Regions from separate parts of the Homo sapiens genome. Here region 2 is linked to region 1. The links are contacts of gene promoters, found by promoter capture Hi-C in blood cells and fetal thymus (Javierre and others, 2016). All regions are on one chromosome and are shown on one strand. The core of a region is centred on a gene start or on the middle of the fragment in contact, and the rest is flanking DNA. Distances in the headings are between cores, read along the strand shown.

Region 1 (6,212 bases), core at 1,797-4,296:
AGGAGTTCGAGACCAGTGTGTCCAATATGGTGAAACCCCATCTCTATTAAAAATACAAAAATTAGCCTGGCATGGTAGCGGGAGCCTGTAGTCCCAGCTACTCGGGAGGCTGAGGCAGGAGAATCACTTGAACCCAGGAAGCAGAGGTTACAATGAGCCGAGATCGCACGACTGCACTCCAGCCTGAGCAACAGAGCAAGACACACACACACACAAAAAAAAACACAAAACACAAAAAACGAATAGGACCTACTATTTGATAGCACAACGGGGTGATCATGGTCAATAGTAACTTAATTGTATGTTTTAAAATAACTTAAAGAGTGTAATTGGATTGTTTGTAACTCAAAGGATAAATGGTTAAGGGAATGGATACCCCATTTACCCTGATGTGCTTATTTCACATTACATGCCTGTATCAAAACATCTCGTGTACCCCATAAATATATACACCTACTATATATCCACGGGAATTAAAAATTGAAAAAAAGAAGTGGAAATAGATTGAAAGCTCTCCCTGTAGAGTAGAAGTTGGATAGATTTTGCAGAAATAACCTTAATCCCTTATTCCTCTCAGTGAAGGAGCCTATGAAATAAAGGAGAATTAAACATGTAGTTCTTATAATTTTCATTCCTTCATTCACTTATCTATATCCTATGTCCCATGTACTATATTATACACTAGACAGTAAGGATAGAAAGATGGATAAGAAACAATCCCTGTCTAAAGATGTCCACAGTATACTAGGGTAGACAAAGATGTGTAATCAGTTTGATTGAGAATCTCACCTCAAGAGGCATAAGCTTGAAAGTCTCATCATTTCTACACTTGGTATTTTGTCAGATTTCATTGCTTCAAAGTATCAGCCTCCTTAGTTATTAAAACTTTCATTCTAGGTATTAAGATTAGGTCCTACTGATTTAAAATATTAGTCTCATATTTATTTCAAAAACTTCCTCCATGCCTTCCAGAGCAGACTAGACCCGTAGTTCCAACTTTCTTTATACACACCCCTTTTTTTCCATGTGCCTGCTCTTCCGATGGTGGGGTCAGGAGGTTTAAGAAGGAAAACAGGCAATGCCTTAAATGTCTGACTGCCGCCATGTTGCTATCTGCTTTCTGTAGGTCATTGTTAGAATATATGGGGTTCCTAACAGCCCCACTGATAACTCAGTATCAAGCAGTCCTCTATGCTTTGATAGCCCTTTGCAAGACTTCTGCATCTGTCAGCTGACTTCCATTTGGCAGTGGTGAAACACATTCTTCTGATACATAGAAATCCCTTGTCCCATGTTATGTTCCATGGCAAGTGTGTGGGCCTCAATCTCCTGTGCTCTCTGTGATCCCAGCTCTGGGGCCTGTAGATTCCGACAGGATCCATAGTCCAGATATCACCGGATTTCTCTGTAGTCCCTACCAACTCTCCCCAGTCCTCCAAAATTCCTGGAAATTCATAGCGTAAGGGGAGTCAGCAAGCTTTGTGGCAAAGGAAACATCCAGATGGGGACTGGAGATATCAGCCTCCTCTTGAAGACACCCCAAAACTTTACTAGTATCATGTAATAGGTACTAATGTCCTGAACAGAACATGAAAGACACTAACCATTAATGAAACAAATGGACAATTTGGATAAATTCATAATTTATTTACTTATTTTTCTTTCTTTTTGAGACAGGGTCTTATTCTGTCTCCCAGCTGGGCTGGAGTGCAGTGGGGTGATCACTGCAGCCTCAACTTTCAGGGCTCAGGTGATTTTCCCTCCAAGACTCCTAGGCTCAAGTGATTTTCCCTCCCAGTCTCCTGAGTAGCTGGGTCTACAGGTGTGCACCATACCCCGCTAATTTTTGTATTTTATTTATTTATTTATTTTTTGAGACAGAGTCTTGCTCTGTTGCCCAGGCTAGAATGCAGTGGCGCGATCTCGGCTCACTGCAAGCTCCGCCTCCCGGGTTCACGCCATTCTCTTGCCTCAGCCTCCAGAGTAGCTGGGTCTACAGGCGCCCGCCACGATGCCCGGCTAATTTTTTTAATTGTTGGTAGAGACGGGGTTTCACCGTGTTAGCCGGGATGGTCTCAATCTCTTGACCTCGTGATCCGCCTGCCTGCGCCTCCCAAAGTGCTGGGATTACAGGCGTGAGCCACTGCGCCCGGCCTAATCTTTGTATTTTTTTAGAGACAAAGTTTCACCATGCCGCCCAGGCTGGTCTCTAACTGTATTTTAAAAATACAGGCGGCCGGGCGCAGTGGCTCACGCTTGTAATCCCGGAACTTTAGGAGGCTGAGGCGGGCCGATCATGAGGTCAGCAGATCGAGACCATCTGGCTAACACGGTGAAACCCTGTCTCTACTAAAAATACAAAAAAAATTAGCCAGGCGTGGTGGCGGGCGCCTGTAGTCCCAGCCACTTGGGAGGCTGAGGCAGGAGAATGGCGTGAACGTGGGAGGCAGAGCTTGCAGTGAACCGAGATCGCGCCACTGTACTCCAGCCTGGCCGACAGAGCGAGACTCCGTCTTAAAATAAAAAATAAAAAAATAAGAAATACAGGCAGGGCGCGTGGGCTCATGCTTGTAATCCCAGCACTTTGGGAGGCTGAGGCGGACAGGCTGCTTGAGCTCAAGAGTTCCAGACTAGCATCGGCAAAGCAGGGAGACCCCATCTTTACAAAAAAAGTAGCCTGGCATGGTGTTGTGAGCCCATAGTCCCAGCTAAGTAGGGCAGAGGTAGGAGAATCACTTGAGCCCAGGAGTTCCAGGCTGCAGTGAGCCGTGGTCGTGCCACTGGACTCCAGCCTGGGTGAAAGAGCAAGACCCTGTCTCAAAAAGAGAAAGGAAAAAATTTAACATCAAGAACTTCCTTTCATCAAGACACCACTGAGAGAATACGACAACCCACAGAGTAGGAAAAGAGATTTGTAATACACATCTGTAACAATGGACTTCCTCCTAGAATAGAGAGGATAAAAAGTAGCAACACTTCCGCTTGCACCCGGACGGAACTTCCTGTCACGGAAAAGAACATCCTGTCACGGAGAAGAACATCCTGCAGAATTTCCTGTCACGAGGAACATTCCGCAGGAGGAAATGGAGGCTGAAAGGCTGCGACTCCTCGAGGAAGAGGCCAAGCTGAAAAAGGTAGCCAGAATGGGATTTAATGCATCTTCCATGCTCCGAAAAAGCCAGCTAGGTTTCCTCAACGTCACCAGTTACTCCCGTTTAGCCAACGAGCTGCGTGTGAGCTGCATGGAGCGGAAAAAGGTCCAAATTCGGAGCTTGGATCCCTCCTCTTTGGCGAGCGACCGATTTAACTTCATTCTGGCGAGTACCAACAGCGACCAGCTCTTCGTAGTGAACCAGGTCGAAGTCGAAGGCTCCAAGTACGGCATCATCAGCCTGCGAACTCTGAAGATCCCTTCGTTCCACGTGTACGTGCTCAGAAACCTCTACGTCCCCAACCGGAAGGTGAAGTCCCTGTGCTGGGCCTCGCTGAACCAGTTGGACTCTCACGTTCTGCTGTGCTTCGAGGGAATCACAGATGCTCCAAGCTGTGCAGTGCTGCTCCCAGCGTCGCGGTTCTTAAGTGTTCACACAAGAGTTAACCAGCCTGGCATGCTCTGCAGTTTCCAGATCCCAGAGGCCTGGTCCTGTGCGTGGTCCCTCAACACCCGGGCATATCACTGCTTTAGTGCAGGCTTGTCTCAGCAGGTCCTGTTGACCAGCGTGGCGACGGGACACCAGCAGTCATTTGATACCAGCAGTGATGTCTTGGCCCAGCAGTTTGCTAGTACGGCTCCTTTGCTGTTTAATGGCTGTCGCTCCGGGGAGATCTTTGCCATTGATCTGCGTTGTAGAAATCGAGGCAAGGGGTGGAGGGCCACTCGCCTGTTCCATGACTCAGCAGTGACCTCTGTGCAAATCCTCCAAGAAGAGCAATGCCTGATGGCATCAGACATGACTGGAAAGATCAAGCTGTGGGATCTGAGGGCCACTAAATGTGTAAGGCAGTACGAAGGTCACGTGAATGAGTCCGCCTATCTGCCCCTGCATGTGCACGAGGAAGAGGGAATCGTGGTGGCAGTGGGCCAGGACTGCTACACGAGAATCTGGAGCCTCCATGATGCCCACCTGCTCAGAACCATCCCTTCCCCGTACTCTGCCTCCGAGGACGACATTCCCAGCGTGGCCTTCGCTTCTCGGCTCGGGGGCATCCGGGGAGCAGCACCAGGGCTGCTCATGGCTGTCCGGCAGGACCTTTATTGTTTCCCCTTCAGCTAATTCTGCAGGTGGCAGCGCGGCCGAATGTGGATTTGACTTAAGGAAGTTAAGAGTATCTTATTACCGTTTCTGTGAGAGCATTTTAAGAGACGTGTTGTATATAGATCGCATCCATCCGGCTGCCAGGGGTAAGGTGTTAAGAGTTTTATGTGGAGACGTTCTTGTAAAGTTATTTCAGTTAAACTGTGGACTTAACTTGAAAGTCCTTTTCATAAAAGGTACCTGTTTCCTCTTGTTGAATGCCTTAGAACAGTTAACCACCTCCCCAACCCTTTTTTTTTTTAAATAATTAAGACTTTTCTAAGGACTGAAGATTGGCAAAAACTAAAATAAATTAAAGCAGCTTCTTTCACTAGTAGCCCTTTAGAGAAGCATAATGATGGTACTGGTAAGACTGTTTGACTAATCATACAGGGTCCCAGGCATCTGCGCTTGAGGAAGCCAGTGGGAGTGGAGACAAGGGAGAGGTAATTTCTCAGAGTCTCTACAGAAATATTTAAGGCTGGAGTTTGGAATCATTAAATTTGGCCTTCTCAAACTCAATAGCAGATCTCTTAAGGTTCTCCTTTTATTGTTATCATCCATAGGCATTGGAAGGAAAGATGGATCTTTTTAAATACTAGAAGTTTTAAACAGTCCTTGATGTGCTTTTGTTGAGGTACCTTTCAGAATGTAAGGTACAGCAGCTCCGGTTTCTATTATGGTGACTTGAAGTTCAGATTCAAGGAATTGGCTTTGACTTTTTGTAATCTAGGAGCAGCAGTTTGTGAGAGATTTATTAAAAATGTTAAAGAGCCTGTTTTTCTACTAAGCAAGGAAGAAAAAAAACGTGTAATAAGGTTAGTTGCTACTTCTTAATAGCCAAAGCCTGGAAATGATCTGAATTTCGAAAATGCTAAAATTCGTGATATAATCATACAATCGGATACTGCATAATAATAGAAAATAAGGCACACTTGCTATGTGAAACAGTATGGACCAATCTCAACATGTTGACTGAAATTAGGTAGAAATGAGTACAAACTGTATGATTCAATTCTAAAGTTCAAAAGCAGTAAAAACTTGTCTATGGTGATTAAAGGTAGAGTAGTACGTACCTCTGTAGAAAGAAAGGATTTTTTTTTCTTTTTCTTTTTAGGATGTTTGAGAAGTGACATGGGGAAGCTTTAGGAATGCTGAGTTTTCTTTATCTTGACACTTGATACATACGTAATTCATATATCTATATGCTTCACGTTTTTATAGTTTACTGTATATATGTTATTCCTCAAAAAATAAAAATAAGCAATTAGGACACTATTGTAGTTAGGCAAGGGACAATGATGCCTTGGACCTGCATGTGTGAGAAGTAGAAATGATCAGAAATGATTGCATTGGAAGATCATTCGAAGGTAGTATTATTGATAAGGCTTGCTGATGAGAGTAAACTAGAAAGTGAAAGAAAAAAGGATGGCAGCTTTTTTTTTTTTTTTTTTGAGACGGAGTCTCCTTCTGTCGCCCAGGCTGGAGTGCAGTGGCGCGATCTCGGCTCACTGCAAGCTCTGAGGATGGCAGCTTTTTTGTTAACTTTAGAACTGGTAGATGATGGTGTCGTTTACTAACCTGGGGAGGATGAGGAGAAAAAACTTTAGGTGAAGGGAATGATGCTGAGTTTTAGACATCTACTAAACCTCCAATTGGAGATACAAAGTATTCTGCAGATCAGGGGTCATGTCATGGCTGGTAATACAAATTTGGTGACTTCAATACATAGAATTAAAATAGATGGGATAGATGTGCTTTATATGACATAGATGAGGTTAATGTAATTACATATTGATAGAAGATGAGTAGATCAATAGAGAAGATATGGGAGTATGGTTAGGCACAGATTTTTGGAATCCTTTCAGTCAGTTTTTTATACTAACTTGATATGTGACATGAGAAATTGTGTAAGCT
Region 2 (6,212 bases), core at 1,153-3,652, 550 kb after region 1:
GTATTGTGGGAGAACCTCGAACAACTCTCGAAATGCCTTAAATAGCTGAATATTTCTGATTGTGTCACTTTAGCTTTAAGACTCAGTTTACTTAATCTGTAAAATTTTGTTACCAGATTATGTTTAAAGTCCTTTTCAGCTTTAACTTCATGCATCACTTATGCTTCTCTAGTTCTTGCTCTTTTATAAACTGCCTACTATTCATTTAGTTATTATGCAGCTTTGGTTTAGTGCTTTAAGAATTTTAGTGTTCAACCTTCACGGTTTTATTAGACCAGGAAAAAATAAATCACTTATCTGCAATTACTTTCTCAGTGGTATTACCCATTTTGGGGTCTCCAGTCTCAGGGCTGATATTTGGAAGCAGACTAATGGAGTATGATTTAGAACCCTTGAGAGAAACACAACTTAGTGACCTCAGAACAGATGGAGTATTCCAAGCCGCAATTCTGAATTTCTTTTCATTTTTCAGTGATGGAATGGGAAGTGGGGGGCAAAGCGAAAGGAAATGATAGTTTCCCCTCATGGCTCCTTCCTGAGAATGAGAAGAATCATTTGTAAATTCTTCTTTTAAGAAGAATTAAATTTGAAAATAATATTTTCAATGATATTAATACATTCCATTCTAAAACTAAGAAAATATTTGAAAACATTAAAATCATGAAAACAAAAGTGATAAGTAATATAGCTAAAAGGATTAAATTCGGTACTGTATCCAAACATTCTAGCGGAAGACACTGACGTTTAGAATGAGAAAAATTAATTTTCTACCTTCTTTATAGTGTTGAGAAAAAGCAGAAGAAAGATGTGGCCTTCTGCATTACATGTATAGTATGTTTTTAAAATGAAAATGGGTCGGCTAGCCATGCCTACACATGAAAAATGAATAAACATTGTGAAGGTTAATACTGAGTGTCAACTTGATTGGATTGAAGGATACAAAGTATTGATCCTGGGTGTGTCTGTGAGGGTGTTACCAAAGGAGATTAACATTTGAGTCAGTGGGCTGGGGAAGGCAGACCCACCCTTAATCTGGGTGGGCACAATCTAGTCAGCTGCCTGCGAATATAAAGCAGGTAGAAAAATGTGAAATGGCAAGACTGGCCTAGCCTCTCCCGTGCTGGATGCTTCCTGTCCTTGAACATCGGACTCCAAGTTCTTCAGTTTTGGAACTCAGACTGGCTCTCCTTGCTCCTCAGCCTGCAGGTCCCATGGCCTATTGTGGGACCTTGTGATTGTGTGAGTTAATGCTTAAGAAACTCCCCTTTATATATATGTATTTATTCTATTAATTCTGTCCCTCTAGAGAACCCTGACTAATACAGATTTTGGTACCAAGAGTGGCTCTAGAGGAACAGAATATTAAGATGGAGTTCTTTCATTGGTTTTGGGGTTTCTGGAGGTGGCTGCTTAATATGATTAGACCCCAAAATGCTAAGGACTCTACCTGTAGTATGGAGAACACTGATAGTCCTTGGCATAAACTGGAGAGTTATGTAAAATAAATGCATTTGACATTCCTGATTCTTCTTTCATGACAGACAATGAGTTTAGTGACTCTATACATAATACCTTTGGCCATATGTGGAGAACCAAGGAACATAATGAAGCTGGTTGGTTGCTCCTAAGTTCAGTGGACAAAGTAATGAAAGAAAATGATGAACTCAGGGATTCTATCTCCTGGCTTCAGAAGCAGATACTGAGTCTCAAATCTGCTAAGACTGCCCTGAGTGAGAGTCTTATCTCCTGCAGGGAAAGAGCTGAAATTGTGGAAAAACAGACACAAGCTGTTATCATGCGAATGGCTGACCCGCAAGGAAAGGTGCATGCGTAGCCTCAACAGGTGTCTACTGTTAAAGGGAGGACATTGATTGGAAAAGAATGGGACCCCGCAACTTGGAATGGGGACGTGTGGGAGGACCCTGATGAAGCTGGGGACACTGAGTTTGTAAACTCTGATGAACCTTTTTTGCCAGAAGTAACAGCTTCCCCATCCCCAGTAGGGGCAACTTCCCCTCTCTGAACCATGTTGCCATCAGCCTTTCCACTTTTGTCTGAGGAGATAAAGCCTGTGCTGCCTGAGGTAACAACGATGGCCTCCCCTGAAGCAGTTGCCAGGCAAGATGATGTTGATTCTCTTCTGGACCCACCCCCAACACCCCTGTTTGCTTCTAGACCTATAACTAGACTAAAGTCCCAGCGAGTCCCTAGACGTGAGGATGAGAGTGTGACTCATGAGGAGATGCACTACACTCAAAAGGAATTGCCTGAGTTTTCAAATTTATATAAGCAGAAAACTTCTAGGTCGAATGGATAAAAGACTAATTTTGAGTTACAAAAACAGAGAATCACAGTCCCTCAATCAATTTCCAAACTTGAGCCAGTTTATAGACCCAGAACCCCTTGAATGAAGGGGAGGCTGGGTACCCTAGAGGAAGGACTCCACTACATAACCGACAATTTATGCTGTTAATCCTTCTCCCATCCTTCCCCAGAGAGACCTCTGGCCTTTTACCAGGGTAACTTTGCACTGGGGAAAGGGAAATGATCAGACATTTTGGGGACTACTGGACACTGGCTCTGAGCTGGTGATGATTCCAGGGGACCCAAAATGTCATTGTGGTCCTCCAGTTAAAATAGGGGTTTATGGTGGTCAGGTAATTAATGGAGTTTTAGCTCAGGTCTGACTTGCAGTGGGTCCAGTGGGTCTCCGGGCTCATCCTGTGGTCATTTCCCTGATGCCAGAATGCATAATTGGCATAGACATACTTAGCAACTGGCAGGATCCCCACATTGGCTCCCTGACTGGTAGGGTGAGGGCTATTACGGTGGGAAAGGCCAAATGGAAGCCATGAGAGCTGCCTCTCCCTAGAAAAATAGTAAATCAAAAACAATATCACATCCCTGGAGGGATTACAGAGATTAGTGCCACCATCAAGGACTTGAAAGACGCAGGGGTGGTGATTCCCACCACATCCCCATTCAACTCTCCCATCTGGCCTGTGCAGAAGACACATGGATCTTGGGGAATGACAGTGGATTATCAGAAGTTTAACCAAGTGGTGACTCCAATTGTAGCTGCTGTACCAGATGTGGTTTCATTGCTTGAGCATATTAACACATCTCCTGGTATCTGGTATGCAACCACCGACTTGGCAAATTCCTTTTTCTCCACTCCTGCCTATAAGGCCCACCAAGCAATTTGCCTTCAACATACCTTTACTGTCCTACCCCAGGGGCATATCAACTCTCCTGCTTTGTGTCATGATCTTATTCAGTGAGACCTTGATTGCTTTTCACTTCCACAAGATATCACACTGGTCCATCACACTGATGACATTATGCTGATTGGATCCAGTGAGCAAGAAGTAGCAAACACACTGGACTTATTGGTGAGATATTTGTGTGCCAGAGGATGGGAAATAAACCTGACTAAAATTAAGGGACCTTCTACCCCAGTAAAATTTCTAGGGGTCCAGTGGTGTGGGGGCTGTTGAGATATTCCTTCTAAGGTGAAGGATAAGTTGTTGCATTTGGCCCCTCCTACAATGAGAGGCACAATGCCTAGTGGGCTTATGTGGATTTTGGAGGCATCACATTCCTTATCTAGGTGTGTTACTCTGGCCCATTTATCAAGTGACCCTAAAGGCCACTGGACCCCAGTTTTGAGTGGGGTCCAGAACGGACACAGGTCCAGGCTGCTGTACAAGCTGCTCTGCCACTTGGTCCATATGACCTAGCAGATTCAATGGTATTTGAGGTGTCAGTGGCAGACGGGGATGCTGTTTGGAGCCTTTGGCAGGCCCCCATAGGTGAATCACAGTGGAGGCATCTAGGATTTTGGAGCAAGGCCCTGCCATAATCTGCAGGTAACTACTCTCCTTTTGAGAGACAGCTCTTGGCTTGTTACTGGGCTTTGGTGGAAACTGAACATTTGACCATGGGTCATCAAGTCACGATGCGACCTGAACTGCGTATCATGAACTGGGTACTTTCTGACCCATCTAGCCATCAAGTGGGTCATGCACCAGCAGCACTGCATCATCAAATTGAAGTGGTATATACGTGATCAGGCTTGAGCAGGTCCTGAAGGCACAAGTAAGTTATGTGAGGAAGTGCCTCAAATGCCCATGGTCTCCACTCCTACCACTGTGCCTTCTCTTCCCCAGCCTGCACCGATGGCCTCATGGGGAGTTCCCTATGATCCAGTTGACAGAGGAAGAGAAGACTAGGGCCTGGTTCACAGATGGTTCTGCACGATATGCAGGCACTACCCGAAAGTAGACAGCTGAAGCACGACAGCCCCTTTCTAGGACATCCCTGAGGGACAGTGGTGAGGTGAAATCTTCCCGGTGGGCAGCACTTCAAGCAGTGCAGCTGGTTGTGCACTTTGCATGGAAAGAGAAATGGCCAGATGTGTGATTATATACTGATTCATGGGCTGTAGCCAATGGTTTGGCTGGATGGTCAGGGACTTGGAAGAAGCATGACTGGAAAATTGGTGACAAAGAAATCTGGGGAAGAAGTATGTGGATGGACCTCTGAGTGGTCAAAAACCGTGAAGATATTTGTATCCCATGTGAGTGCTCACCAACGGGTAATCTCAGCAGAGGAGGAGTTTAATAATCAAGTGGATAGGATGAACTGTTCTGTGGACACCACTCAGCCTCTTTCCCCAGCCACCCCTGTCATTACCCAATGGGCCCATGAACAAAGTGGCCATGGTGGCAAGGATGGAGGTTACGCATGGGCTCAGCAACATGGACTTCTACTCACCAAGGATGACCTGGCTATGGCCACTGCTGAGTGCCCAATTTGCCAGCCGCAGAGACCAGCACTGAGCCCTTGATATGGCACCATTCCTTGGGGTGATCAGCCAGCCACCTGGTGGCAGATTTTTGCATCATGAAAAGGGCAGAGGTTTATCCTCACTGGAACAGACACTTACTCTGGATATGGGTTTGCCTATCCTGCACGCAGTGCTTCTGCCAAGACTACCATCTGTGGACTCAAGATCTTCCACACAGTACTGCCTCTGACCAAGGCACTTACTAAAGAAGTGTGGCAGTGGGCTCATGCATCCACTGTCACAGTATTCCACACAGCACTGCCTCTGGCCAAGGCACTCACTTTATGGCTAAAGACGTGTGGCAGTGGGCTCACTGGTCTTACCATGGAACTCACTGGTCTTACCATGTTCCCATCATCCTGAAGCAGCTAGATTGATAGAAGGGTGGAATGGCCTTTTGAGTTACAATTACAGTGCCAACTAGGTGACAACACTTTGCAGGGCCGGAGCAAAGTTCTCCAGAAGGCCGTGTATGCTCTGAATCAGCATCCAATATATGGTACTGTTTCTCCCATAGCCAGGATTCAGGGGTCCAGGAATCAAGGGGTGGAAGTGGAAGTGGCACCACTCACCATCACTCCTAGTGATCCACTAGCAACATTTTTGCTTCCTGTTCCTGCGACATTATGTTCTGCTGGCCTAGAGGTCTTAGTTCCAGAGGGAGGAACACTGTTATCAGGAGACACAACAATGATTCAATTAAACTGGAAGTTAAGATTGCCACCTGGACACTTTGGGCTCCTCCTACCTTTAAGTCAACAGGCTAAGGGAGTTACAGTGTTGGCTGGGGTGACTGACCCAGACTACCAAGATGAAATCAGTCTACTGCTCCATAACAGAGGTAGGGAAGAGTATGTACGGAATACAGCGAATCCATTAGGGCGACTCTTAGTATTACCATGCCCTGTGATTAAGGTCAATGGGAAACTACAACAGCCCAATCCAGGCAGGACTACAAATGGTCCAGACCCTTCAGGAATGAAGGTTTGGGTCACTCCACCAGGAAAAAAACCACAACCTGCTGAGGTGCTTGCTGAAGGCAAAGGGAAAACAGAATGGGTAGCAGAAGAGGGCAGTCAACAATACCAGTTACGACTACATGACCAGCTGCAGAAACAAAGACTGTAACTGTCATGAGTATTTCCTCACCAATTCCCCAGCTAACATCATATTGAAAAGGGAAAAGCTGAAAGCTTTCCTCCAAGAACTGGAACAAGATGAGGAAGCCCTCTTTCTTCACAGCTATTCAAAATAGTACTGGAAGTCAAGGCCAGAGCAATCAACAAGAGAAAAAAATAAAAGGAATACAAATTGGAAAAGAGGAAGTCAAATTGTTCCTCTTTGCTGATGACATATCTTATAT

The links. Contacts are between HindIII fragments. The CHiCAGO score rates a contact against its expected background, and 5 or more counts as called.
Region 2: a fragment that was not itself captured here is called in contact with the fragment with the promoter of DCAF4L1 in region 1 in 1 of 17 cell types (total B cells); the score reaches 5.6 in total B cells.

The regions. Positions count from the first base shown.
Region 1 is chr4:41,978,710-41,984,921 of GRCh38, forward strand. It overlaps DCAF4L1 (DDB1 and CUL4 associated factor 4 like 1), which reads left to right and starts at 3,047. Exons shown (of 1, transcript NM_001029955.4): 1 at 3,047-6,212. The coding sequence starts at 3,084. The coding sequence ends at 4,274. RefSeq lists enhancers at 2,778-3,977, 3,537-4,309. The HindIII fragment of the contact is 3,961 bases long and covers 1,476-5,436 here.
Region 2 is chr4:42,525,445-42,531,656 of GRCh38, forward strand. The region is part of intron 20 of ATP8A1 (ATPase phospholipid transporting 8A1); the gene reads right to left. Among named protein-coding and RNA genes, the nearest start is that of ATP8A1, 130 kb to the right of the region's middle. The HindIII fragment of the contact is 7,276 bases long and covers 1-6,040 here.